Linked DNA regions of Homo sapiens: regions 1 and 3 are each linked to region 2. Evidence: promoter capture Hi-C in 16 types of primary human blood cells and fetal thymus (Javierre and others, 2016). All regions are on one chromosome and are shown on one strand. The core of a region is centred on a gene start or on the middle of the fragment in contact, and the rest is flanking DNA. Distances in the headings are between cores, read along the strand shown.

Region 1 (3,842 bases), core at 906-3,405, 120 kb before region 2:
CAAACACATTGAATAGAACTTGGAGAATAGAATTGGACAGGAATTTGAACATAAGAATAAAATATATTTATTACATTATCCACTGTAAAAAAGCATAGTACATATTCACATACAAAGTAACTTTTAAAATCATAGGCAAGATAAGAATCAGAAGTTGATACATGCAAGTATATTTTAAAAGCTACAAATGCATACATGTTTTTTAAATGTCCTTCTACTAAATTCACTTTCTATAATTAAAAAAAAATAGCCAAATCAGGAGGATAGTTACTACTACTAATTAAACTTAAAAAAAATTTCCTAGGTGTTTTGAAAATAGTTCCTATGTAAATTCACAGTAGATATTCCCTACTCTAAACCTACCTCAGTTTGTACACCCAGCACCAAACAAATACAAAGCATTATGGGATAAAATTAATAATGCTATGCAAATAAAACAATTCATTTATAAATAATAATAAATAGTCACTCCACATCACAGTAACTTAGCATGATTAGAGAATAAATACTTAACTTTGAGAAGGATTACTGACTGGCAGTGTGTTGCTGGTATATGTCAGGATTATTCATCACCCTGACAGTAATATTAACCACAATCCATTTCAGTTGCTTCAGTTTATCATTTTCTGACTAATGTTAAAAAACAATGTCTTTGGAGGCTGCTTGAATTAAGTGTAGAATTAACGTCTGTTAGAGTCATTCAAAAACTTCTATTAGAAGATAACTTCTACAGAAAACCAAATCTGCTATACAGAGTACTAATGCTTAAAAGATGTAAGTTTCGAAACACAGCCATACAAAATAAATGGACTAATTCTGTTTTAAAAGCAAAACTTCAACAAATCCTGTAAATGCCTTATAACATCCATATACATATATATTCCTTAAATATATATGCTTCCACTTTCCTGAACTTAGTATTAAATTCTACATAAAGAGTTGCACAGACACATTTTAAACTAACATGCCACATTGAACACGTAATAATTCAATTTAAAAAGGTCAGTGTACCCATGAAAAATTTTCTTCAGGGTTATATAAATTAAATAGCTACACAGTTTGCTACCTAGGATCCTCAAAATTAAGTAATCTGCTAAAGGTCTCTCTACTTATAAATGGTAACAGGAATATACAACTCTATCTAAATCCAAAGATTCCCTGCTCTGGTCTAATTTTATCTTTCCAGGCTGTTTTCTCCACATCATGTTGATATTCCTTTTAGAAGATATCTGCATTTATAACTCTTCTATTAATTTTTATACTGCTCTTTCTTGTTTTATGATTATTCACTTTCCATAGCATAATTTTCTTGTTCTATTAATGCAATAGTTTCCCTTTATCTGAAAATATTTATTCTAGTTTTTTTTTTTTTAAAAAAACACTTCTGTTTCATAAATTGCCTCTGTTTCTTCTGGTTTTGTTTTGATTTTCTATTTGCTTTGGTCTTTGTCATCTTTCACATTAGAGGTTGTCTTTAAATGTTTGCTAATACTTGGCTGCACCTCCATTTTTAAGAATGAGACACTGAAGAGCTGACTGAGCATATAGACCATAAGTAGTGATGTGAACTGGTAGACTTCACTGAAGGGAAATCAAGTGGGCTCGAAGTAGAATCCCTAAATGTTTTATTTTTTTAGGTGTTTTCTTTTGAGCCAGTGAATATGTCCAAAGAGTAATACAATCTTCTGTCTTATGGGGTGGGGATGGTATAAGCTTAGCTGCCGCAGTTCTAATAGCATGACAGCAGAAGGGGTCTAGGGGCTTTCACGACTTGGTACTTAAAGCTTTCAGTTATAATCCTCCTGTTTTCCATCCTTTACCTTAAACCCTCCTTCTGGTGTGCTTGGTGTTCTCATATCAGAAACGTGTCTGGTAAAATTTCTCCAAAAAAGTCAATCTCTTGCTTTTTGACAATACAGAGGGAAGAGTAGTTGGATTTTGGAATGAAGCAGATATAAAGCAAGTATTGAATTTAAAATGTTCTTTCAGATTATACCTAAAGTCTACCAGTTGACTGACAGACAGATTTGAGATCAAATCCTGAGCTTACCACTTGGAAAATGTGTGACCTCCCAGAATTCTTTAACCTCACTAAATCTTAGTTTCCTTATCTGTAAAATAAAGACAATAACACATTCCTTACAGGGTTATTGAAGGAATTAAATGAAACAGCATATGTAAAATGCCTGTCATAGTGGAAAGCACCTATTAGGGCTTCCCTCACAATCCTACAAATACGTTGGGAACTCTCCCCATATCATTTTTATGCTTATTAGACTGCAAACTTTCCAAGGCCAGACAATGTAATTTATATCATAATCTCTAAAATCAATGTGGCATACAACAGCATCCATGTTTGATGCCAAGATTAAACTATTTTAACATATTATGTCAGCCAATAAAACATATCCAAAACATAATCAAGTATGGGGTAATTTTTAGTTTCTTTCTCTGCATTTATATTTTATTTAAACAATTTAAGATCTATTATTTACTGTTGTAGTATCATAAGATGTGTTTCTTTTGGTAAGCTTGAATTCCTTTAGCTTCACTGAAGCCCAATAAATAGAAAAATGAAGTAAAAGCCATAACACCTAACAAGTTTAAACAATATTCCCCCCACCCCCAAGAGTGTTCTTTTCCCTCTGTGACATCTAGATGGTATATTGATTCCCAGTGTATCTGTTACAGAGCAGACTAAAAGGACTGGCATTCATCAGAAACAGCACTTAAAACTTAAAGAGATAAAGAAGTGCTGTCTGATCAACAACAGTTAAATGTCGGTAGTCAATTCCAGGTCAAGATGCATGCTGTATATTAAATGTGTGTGTTAAACAGAAATATCTCACACATAAAAATATACATCCAAATGGTAGGAGATACATGAAGGAGAGAAAAAAAAATCACTTACTTTTCCTGAAAGAGAGAGCGAGAAACAGAAACATATACTAAGCACAAACAGGAGCAACTCAGCAATGAATAACAAATTCACTATGGTTCTGTCACTCAGTTCTCTTCGGTTTTGTCAGAATCTACTCTTTAGAACTATTTGGATCCAAACTAGGGCAATGTAAACTGCTAGGTTAACAGAGTGTGAATAGTCTAGCATTGTAACATAGGTTTAAAAACAAAACGAAACAAAACAAACATGATTTCTTAGAGCTTAGACAAAAATTTAAAATTCAGTTTTAGTCAATTTTCCTCTGATTCCTATGTTGCAAGATAGGAATCAGGAGATCATGGTGCAGGTTCATTTTCTTCTACTCTTTATTTTCCTGTTTCTGCACTATGGACCAAAATAACAGCTCATTTTGTGGTTACAATCTAAAGATGAAAAACAGATTTTTCTTTACCTTGTTCCTCAAACTCTCTATTTTCCTTCATTTTAAAAATGTGAGTTGTAATTATTAAAAAGTAAGTATTTGCTTTATCTTGGCCATTCCTGTTTCTCCCAAATCTTCAGCTTATTCTTTTACTAGGATAGTAATGACTTCATTTTATTCTTTCACATCTTCAGAAACTAGCAGTCCATGGCATATTACAGTACTCAATTAACAACCAATAAATGAATGAACAAATGAATAAGCAGTAACACTGGGGATCCTCTAGTTTTAACCGAACATTCAGCTTTTTTTGTAAAATAGGTTTAATCAAAAAAGGCTGGAGCATAACCTGGGATAAAGACAACAAGAGTAGGGCAATTTGAAAAGAAAAAAAGCTTTCCTTTTTCAAGCAATAGCATGCTGCTTGTAGGTACTAGGTACTTCAGCATGAGAAGTGAAAGGCAACTTCATAAATAACATTAAAACAGAACCAGCAACTGGTGCCAAAAGTGGAAGGCA
Region 2 (3,947 bases), core at 1,005-3,504:
GAAAGCTCCGCACCCTCTATCCCCGCCACCAGTCTCCGCCCAGTAACTGCCCCCGGAGAAGCAACCACGGAGCCCCTCCCGGCCAGTCGCGCTCTCCCGGCAGCGCAGTGCCCTCCGGCCCAGGCAGTTCCCAGAGCGCCGGCAAGGCCTCCCGGGTTAGAGCCGGGCTCCCACAGGCGCGAACTCCGAGGGCGCGAGGTCCCCTAGATCCTTAGGCGGCGAGGCGTTCCGGGACGCACGCGGCCTCCCCGGAGAAGGCTGGAGGTCAAGCAGCCCAAGTCTCTGCCACTCCAGAGAAGTTAACTAAAGCTCTGGAGTCCAAGAGTCGCGCGGACACTTAATTCTGACTCTTCTTCCTAATCGCGGGAAGACAAACCCTAAGCAACAAATCCGAGATAGTTTTTTTTTAAGCAAATATTCCTTAGAAAGGGACTTATGGCAACGAGAGAGGAAGGGTGACAAACTGCCTGTGGTCCGCACCAGGTATGTAAGAAAGAACCAAGAGGCCCAATTGTCTGATACCAAGTAGATAGAAAGAAATTAACTTCCCTATGCAATTCAATTCAGGTTCACCCGGCCGGACTTTAAGAGGGTAAGTCAAGCCCTCCCAAGGGGTTTTGAAAAAGCCGAACTACCAGGTTTCTAAAACGAAGTCTTCACCCAAATGGACGCATAGATTTTTATTTTTATCGCATAACCCAGGGCTGGAATATAACCTCCCAAATCAAACTAAAAATAATCACATCTACCTGAAATACGTTAAAAAGATTCAGAATCCAGACATCTTAGGTTCATACATAAACCCTCAGTATCAAGCAAATCAGAAACAATGTTCTAGCTTTTTTTTTCACCCAAAAGTATGGAAAGGCTACAGTGGGTACAACTCGTTTAGGATAATACATATACTAAAAGCACATGCATGCCTTTCATTGAAATGCCTAGGGAGGAGTGAAGCCATCTGTGTAATCAATAACAGGATAGTTATAGATTTTTGTGGCAGTGAAGTCTTTTAAAAGCAAGAGTCAATTATGAAAATAAAATCATTTTACAAATGAAACTCTGTACCTGTACCCCCTAAGAATACATTCACAATTAGATTTACAACAGTAAGATTTTAAGAAAACTTTAGGTTTACATTTACTTGCCTTGTTTTTCATTAAGTTTGAAGCAATTTTAGTAGCTTATTTTAAAAGTATATCCTACTAAGTTCTACGACATGTAAGTTTGCACCATTTCTCACAACTTAGATATTTTCTCTCTCGTAACTAGTTAATTCTTGTAACGATAAAATAATGGTATTAAATACATGTGAATCTTAATTATGAAATAATTATCAAACAAGGTGCTTGGACTAGTTTTTGCCCTGCCCTGTTTTTAAACAGCATATCGAAATTACTAAAAAGAGATTTATAAACCCTCACCTTATATCCACTCCAACCCTCACTGGTGCACATATACAGCAACTGCTCTGATTCTTGGCAACAATGGGAGGGGAGGGGAAGAGAAAGGAGGATGACTTTAAAGGAGGAAAAAACCTGGAAAAATTAGGTCCTTTCCCAGATTCCCCTTTCGCTTCCCATTTGCCTTCAAGCCAAAGTAATTTTGTTACAGTTTGCACCTTCTACTACACAATGTTGATAGAATCATTTAAAAAAAAAAAAAGTGAACCTTTCTGAACCATTGCTACTCTCCCTCGCGTTATTCCAGCCATCTCCAGGAGAGTCCCTTCTATATAAACTCTTTTTCTTCTTTGCTACTGATAAGAGAGGAGGATAAAGAGGAACGGCTGTAAAATGTGTGCAAGCATTTGACTCCCATTATCTCCTCCTATTTTCTTACTTCTCTCTTTACCCTGTTTCTTTATCAAGTGCAGTGGTGGCTGCTACCGTTCGCCAAGCGTGCCTGTCTTCTCTCTCGGATTGGCTAAAGCACTGACAGCTCGGATAGCGATTGTAGGAACTGAAGCTCCACCCCCTCATGATGGCCCTGGGACCATTCATAAACTAAATAACTCCAGGAAACAGCGAGGGAGAGAGAGAAAGAAAGAGAGAGGGAGAGAGAGAGACAGAGAGAGTTAGAGGAAAGAAGAGAGAGCGAGCACGAGGAAGGGGGGCGGGGGAGAGAAGCAGGGGGAGAGCGGGGCGAGAAAGAGGTCGGAGGGGAGAGGAGGGGGAGAGACGACTCAGAAAGTGGAATCTGTAAAAGCAAGCTAGAGGAGAAGAAGGAAAACCCTGAATCGTTATAACTACACCCCAGATGCAACGCAAGCAACGACTTCGTCACACTAAAACGGATTTTGTGAGGGCCAAAAGTATAAATTACGAAGCAGAAATGATTATCAAACAACTTCCAGCGGTTTGCACCTAAAGAAACACAAGGAGAACCCACTACAAACAAACAAACCCAGTCCAAACAACGCCTCCAGTAGGAAAAGAGGAAAACTGCGATAACACGACCCCCCGAGAAGAGACGAGACCAACACGCTGAGACTGTGGGGCGTCAGCAAACCTCCAAGTGCACGGCGGACTGAGTTGTACTTCGCAGCTCTCTGGACATTAATTACCTCCTGCACCTTCCATTTGGGGGAGGGTGAGGAAGAAGGCACTCACCTACACTGAGCGAAGAAGTCCTATCAGCGTGGAAGAGAAGTTTAAGAATGAACCACTGAATGTTTCGCTTTTATTTTTAAATTTACTTTGGCACTTAAAAAACCTCATTTCCAGATTTCTGGACAATCTCGGCTGCAGACATCTAAGCCTAACCTTTTGGTATCCTGAGTTTTTTCCCTCTCCTTCTCCTTCCTCACGCCCACCCCGCTTCTCTCGCACACGGTCATCTTTACATATCAAGAGAAAGCAAAAAGGTTCCAAGAGGTACTTTTCTTTTTAGAAAATCACCTTTTCTCCCCTAATTCTTCTGCAGAAGAAAAGAGGTTTCGAAAGAGGGAAAAGGAAAAAACAAGCCGGCTACGGTATCAGCCGGTCAGCCCAGGTGGAAAACGAGAGTGAAAGTAGGGCTTAACGGGGAGCGCACCGCCTCTTTCGAAAGCCGCTGGGCCACCACCAGTGCGTGAGCCTTGGATCCCTCAACGTATTGCGAGACGCCGGTGTATAGCCCGGACCTGTGCCCCAACATGATCGCCGCTCAGGCCAAGCTGGTTTACCAGCTCAATAAGTACTACACTGAGCGCTGTCAGGCGCGCAAGGCGGCCATCGCCAAAACCATCCGAGAGGTCTGTAAGGTGGTCTCGGACGTGCTCAAGGAAGTGGAGGTGCAGGAGCCTCGCTTCATCAGCTCCTTGAGCGAGATCGATGCCCGCTACGAGGGGCTCGAGGTCATTTCGCCCACCGAATTTGAGGTGGTGCTCTACCTAAACCAGATGGGCGTCTTCAACTTCGTGGACGACGGCTCGCTGCCCGGCTGCGCAGTGCTCAAACTGAGCGATGGGCGGAAGCGGAGCATGTCTCTCTGGGTCGAGTTCATCACGGCGTCGGGCTATCTCTCAGCGCGTAAGATCCGCTCGCGTTTCCAGACGCTGGTGGCCCAGGCGGTGGACAAGTGCAGCTATCGGGATGTGGTCAAGATGATCGCGGACACCAGCGAGGTCAAGTTGCGCATCAGGGAGCGCTATGTGGTGCAAATCACTCCGGCGTTCAAGTGCACCGGGATCTGGCCTCGCAGCGCGGCACAGTGGCCTATGCCCCACATCCCTTGGCCCGGCCCCAATCGGGTGGCCGAGGTCAAGGCCGAAGGGTTCAACTTGCTCTCGAAGGAGTGCTACTCGCTGACCGGCAAGCAGAGCTCGGCAGAGAGCGACGCCTGGGTGCTACAGTTCGGGGAGGCGGAGAACCGCCTGCTGATGGGCGGCTGCCGAAACAAGTGCCTCTCAGTGCTGAAGACTCTGCGGGACCGCCACCTGGAGCTACCCGGCCAGCCGCTCAACAACT
Region 3 (4,264 bases), core at 1,380-3,879, 100 kb before region 2:
TAGCCAGGCGTGGTATCATGTGCCTACAGTCCCAGCTACCGGGAAGCTGAGGTGAGTGATTCGCTTGAGCCCAGCAGATTGAGCTGCCGTGATTGTACCACTGCACTCCAGCACTCCAGCCTGGGTGACATAGCAAGACCCTGCCTTTAAAAAAAAAGGACATCTAGCTTTAACTGTGGGAGAACATTACAGAACATTCCCAGGTATGAAAACATATACTAGGTGTGATAAACAAAACTTTTCTAAAATAAAGAGATAATTTGTAGAAAAAGACTTCTTAACTAATATAAGGAAATCCACTATGCTCCTCTGGGCTGCTTCTTCCTGAACTCTGAAATCCTCATTAAATTATAAAAATTATCTAATCAAAAGCATTACCGGTATTGTAAGGCAACATAGCTTATAATCCAGAAGGACCACTTTATTTGCCCCATTTACATAAAAGTTGTGACCTGTGGTAGTTCTGGAATACATCCTCGAGAGGTGGAGCTTAATTCCCCTCCCCTGGACTTTGGGCTGTATTTAGTGACCCACTTGTAAATGAATACAATGTAGCAGAAATGATGGTGTATAACTATCAAGAGAAAGTAATTTTTAAAAATTGGGGTTTCTGCTTCATTCTCTCTTGGATCACTTGCTCTGCAGGAAGCCAGCTCCCATGTCATGTAACACTCCAGTAACAGATGGAAAAACTGACTCGGTAAGGAACTGAGGCCTACTGCTAAGGAGCACATGAGAGATTCCTTTGACAGCCATCCAGCCACAGGCTGGCTGTAGCTACTACTAACATCCTAGCTGATGTTTGTGCATTCTATCGCAATTGCATTTGTAATAGGATACTTAAAATTTAAAAATAAACACTGATCAAAAGTAGCTCAATTCAATACCAAATTAGGTATGCTAAAAGTAAACTGTACGTTTCCACCACGAATATGTTTCAATCAATAGAAAAATCCCAGTGTTCGCTCTTTCCAGTTCTTAAATTAGTTAACTAAATTGTATTGATGATGAATCAATACCTACTATGAAAGGAAATAATCAGTAATTATGCTACTTCAATGTAGTCCCAGCATACAGGAGAAAGATGCATACACCTACACTCTCCCAATACCCTATACCATGAGAGATATTTTGCCATTTTAACATTTCTCTCAGAGACTTATTAGGTTACTTTCAACTATATAAATACTTGTTATTAAGTCCATACATTCAAATACAAAACTAATATGTGAATTCTGATTTACCAGAGGCTACACATACAGGTTTTAATTAAATATAGTTACAAAATCCTTAATCTATAGATTTAATATTTATATTAAATAAAAAATTGTATGATGTAATAGAGCAAAATCCAATCATTTTTATCAAAACGATGAAAAGTTTCAGATTTATCATGTGTATATTAAATAATGCTATAGCACATACTAAAATGATTGTAATAAACACTTTTTTAAAACAGCATCACATGTACAGATGTAATAAGCACTTTTGGCTTAGATATTTTTAAATATGCTTAGAAAGCTTATCTTTCAATAATTGTGATTGGAATATAATTAATTTTTTATATTTATTTAAACAGTTTTACATAGATGTAATAATTGTACATATTTATGGTGTACGCAGTGATGTGATATACATAAGACATAGTGATCAGATCAGGTAATTAGGACACCCATTATCTAAAACATTTATCATTTACTTGTGTTAGCAACAGTCAAAATCCTCCTCCTAGCTATTTGAAACTGTATTACTGCTAACTCTAGTCATCCTACAGTGTTATATAGAACTTTAGAATTTATTCCTCAGTCCAGCTCTTATTTTGTATACTTTAACAAATCTCTCCCTATCATCTCTCCCTCCCCACTACCCTTTTGATCCTCGAGTATCCACTGTTCTACTTTTTACTCATATGGAGATTAACCTTTTGGTAGCTTCCACATATGAGTGAGAACACGCAGTGTTTAACTTTCTGTGCCTGGCTTATTTCACTTAATATAATGTCCTGCAGTTCCATCCATGCTGCCACCAATGACAAGATTCCATGTTTTTTTATGGCTGAATAGTATTCCATTGTGTATATATGGCACCTTTTCCTTATCCACTTATCTGTTGCTGAACACCACTGATTCCATCTCTTTGCTAGTGTGAACAGTCCTGCAATAAACATGGTGGGTGCAGATGTCTCTTCAATGTACTGATATCCTTTCGTGTGGATAGATGCCCAGTAGTGGGAACTCTGGATCACATGGGAGCACTATTTGTGGTTTCTTGAGGAAGAGATATAATTTAATACATTATATTAAATGTATAATATTTATCAAACTTAAGTGTACAATTTGATGAGATTTGAATATATATATATGTTTCTGTAACCACCACCACAACCAAGATACACTCTAAAAGGTCCCTCATAACCCTCTGCAGCTAATTCCCTTGCCCCAACTCTTGGCCCCTGGTAACCAATAATCTGCTTTCTGTCATTGTGTAGTTTTGCTTTTTCAGTAATTTCATATAAATAAAACCATGGCCTATGGCTATGATGTATGGAGCCCGTAATGTTTAATTTCTTTCATTTAGCATAACACTTTTGAAATTCATCCATGTTGTTGCATGTACCAGTAGTCATTTCCCTTTTATTTCTGAGTGGTATTTCATTTATTCCAGTGAATACAGGTATTGCAATCTGTTTAGCCACTCACAGTTGATGGACATCAGAAATGTTTACAATTTGAGACTGGAATAAAACTGCTATTAATATTTGCTTAAAAGTAAATGTGAATATGTATGTTTTCATTACTCTTGATAAATGCCTAAGAGTGGAATTAGTATGATATACATTAAGTTCCTAACCTATACATCCTCATTAACTTTACACATTCTTTGTTGTTGTTTTTGAAAATCAAGTTTGTTGAAGAATAATTTACATAGAGAAAAATTCATTATTTTTAGGTGTACAATATAATGAGTTTTCTAAACATAGAGGCTTATGTAAGAACAATTATGACATGGAATATTTCCATGATCCCCAAAAGTTCCTTTTATTCTCCCTTGTATGCAATTCTTCCTCTTTTCCCATAGCTCCTAGCAATCATTGCTCTGTTTTCTGTCCCTAACAGCTATGCTTTTTCCAGAATGTCATATAAATGGAATCATACAACATGCAGCCTTTTGTTTTGGCTTTGTACACCTAGTATAATATTTTCAAATTCATCTGTGTTGTTGCATGTATTAGTGCTTCACTCCTTTTTATTACTAAGTACTATATAGATTCCATTGTATGGATTTATCACAGTTTGTCCATTTACCAGTTGATAACCATCTTGGTTATTTCCAATTTTTGTGATGAATATGGCTGCTATAAATATTCATGAAGCAGTCATTGCATGAACATATATTTTCATTCCTCTAGGGTAAGAGACCTAGAGTGAGACTCCTAGGATGTATGGGAAAGTGTATGGTTAATTCTATATGAAAGTGCCAAATTGTTTACAAAGAAGTCGTACCACTTTACTTCCCCATCAACAACATGTGAGGTTCCAGTTGCCTTGTATACTGCTCTTGGTATTGTTAGATTTTTAAAAAGTTATTCGAATAGGTATGTCATGGGATCACACTGTTGTTTTAATCAGCATTTCTCAGATGACTAATGATGTTTGGCATCTTTTCATGTGTTTATTCGGTATCTATATCTATTCTTTGTTGAAGTATCTGTTCAAAACTTACATTTTTTTTTTGTAGCAAGCTTATCTTGTTATATAGTATGTTTCCTACATATCCTGGATGTAAGTGCTTTATCACACATAAGTTGAACAAATACTTTAATCCAGTCTGGCGTATATTTTCATTTTCTTAAGAGTTGGCATTTCAAAGCAAATGTTTTTTATTTTAATGAAATCAATTAAAGATCTAAAGAAATATTTACCTAATTCAAGGTCACAAAGATTTTTCTCCTATGTGTTCTTTCAAGAAGTTCTACTTTTAGCACTTACGTTTGTCTACACTACGTTTTTTTCTGTTACATTTTGAGTTAATTTATATGTAAAATTAAGGGGTGAGGTTCTTTTTCTTTTTGGATATGGATAACCAATTGTTCATCATCATTTGTTAAAAAGATCATTTTCCCCCCTGGGCATACCTTGACATCTTTGTCAAAAATCAAATTGATCATATATGTTTGAGTCTATTTCTGGACTCTGTTACAGTCCATTGGTTTATATGAGTCTATCCTTAAATAACAAGCTATCCTAATGAATGTAATTTTATA

Evidence for each region. Contacts are between HindIII fragments. The CHiCAGO score rates a contact against its expected background, and 5 or more counts as called.
Region 1: a contact is called between a fragment that was not itself captured here and the fragment with the promoter of MAB21L2 in region 2, in 1 of 17 cell types (megakaryocytes). The highest score is 5.9, in megakaryocytes.
Region 3: a contact is called between a fragment that was not itself captured here and the fragment with the promoter of MAB21L2 in region 2, in 1 of 17 cell types (megakaryocytes). The highest score is 5.1, in megakaryocytes.

The regions. Positions count from the first base shown.
Region 1 is chr4:150,457,426-150,461,267 of GRCh38, forward strand. All of the region lies in intron 44 of LRBA (LPS responsive beige-like anchor protein), which reads right to left. Among named protein-coding and RNA genes, the nearest start is that of LRBA-AS1, 120 kb to the right of the region's middle. The HindIII fragment of the contact is 747 bases long and covers 1,783-2,529 here.
Region 2 is chr4:150,579,897-150,583,843 of GRCh38, forward strand. MAB21L2 (mab-21 like 2) reads left to right here and starts at 2,255. Exons shown (of 1, transcript NM_006439.5): 1 at 2,255-3,947. The coding sequence starts at 3,134. The region is part of intron 40 of LRBA (LPS responsive beige-like anchor protein); the gene reads right to left. LRBA-AS1 (LRBA antisense RNA 1) reads left to right here. Exons shown (of 2, transcript NR_149035.1): 2 at 1-1,338. The HindIII fragment of the contact is 6,793 bases long and covers 1-3,947 here.
Region 3 is chr4:150,479,132-150,483,395 of GRCh38, forward strand. All of the region lies in intron 42 of LRBA (LPS responsive beige-like anchor protein), which reads right to left. Among named protein-coding and RNA genes, the nearest start is that of LRBA-AS1, 98 kb to the right of the region's middle. The HindIII fragment of the contact is 2,221 bases long and covers 1,520-3,740 here.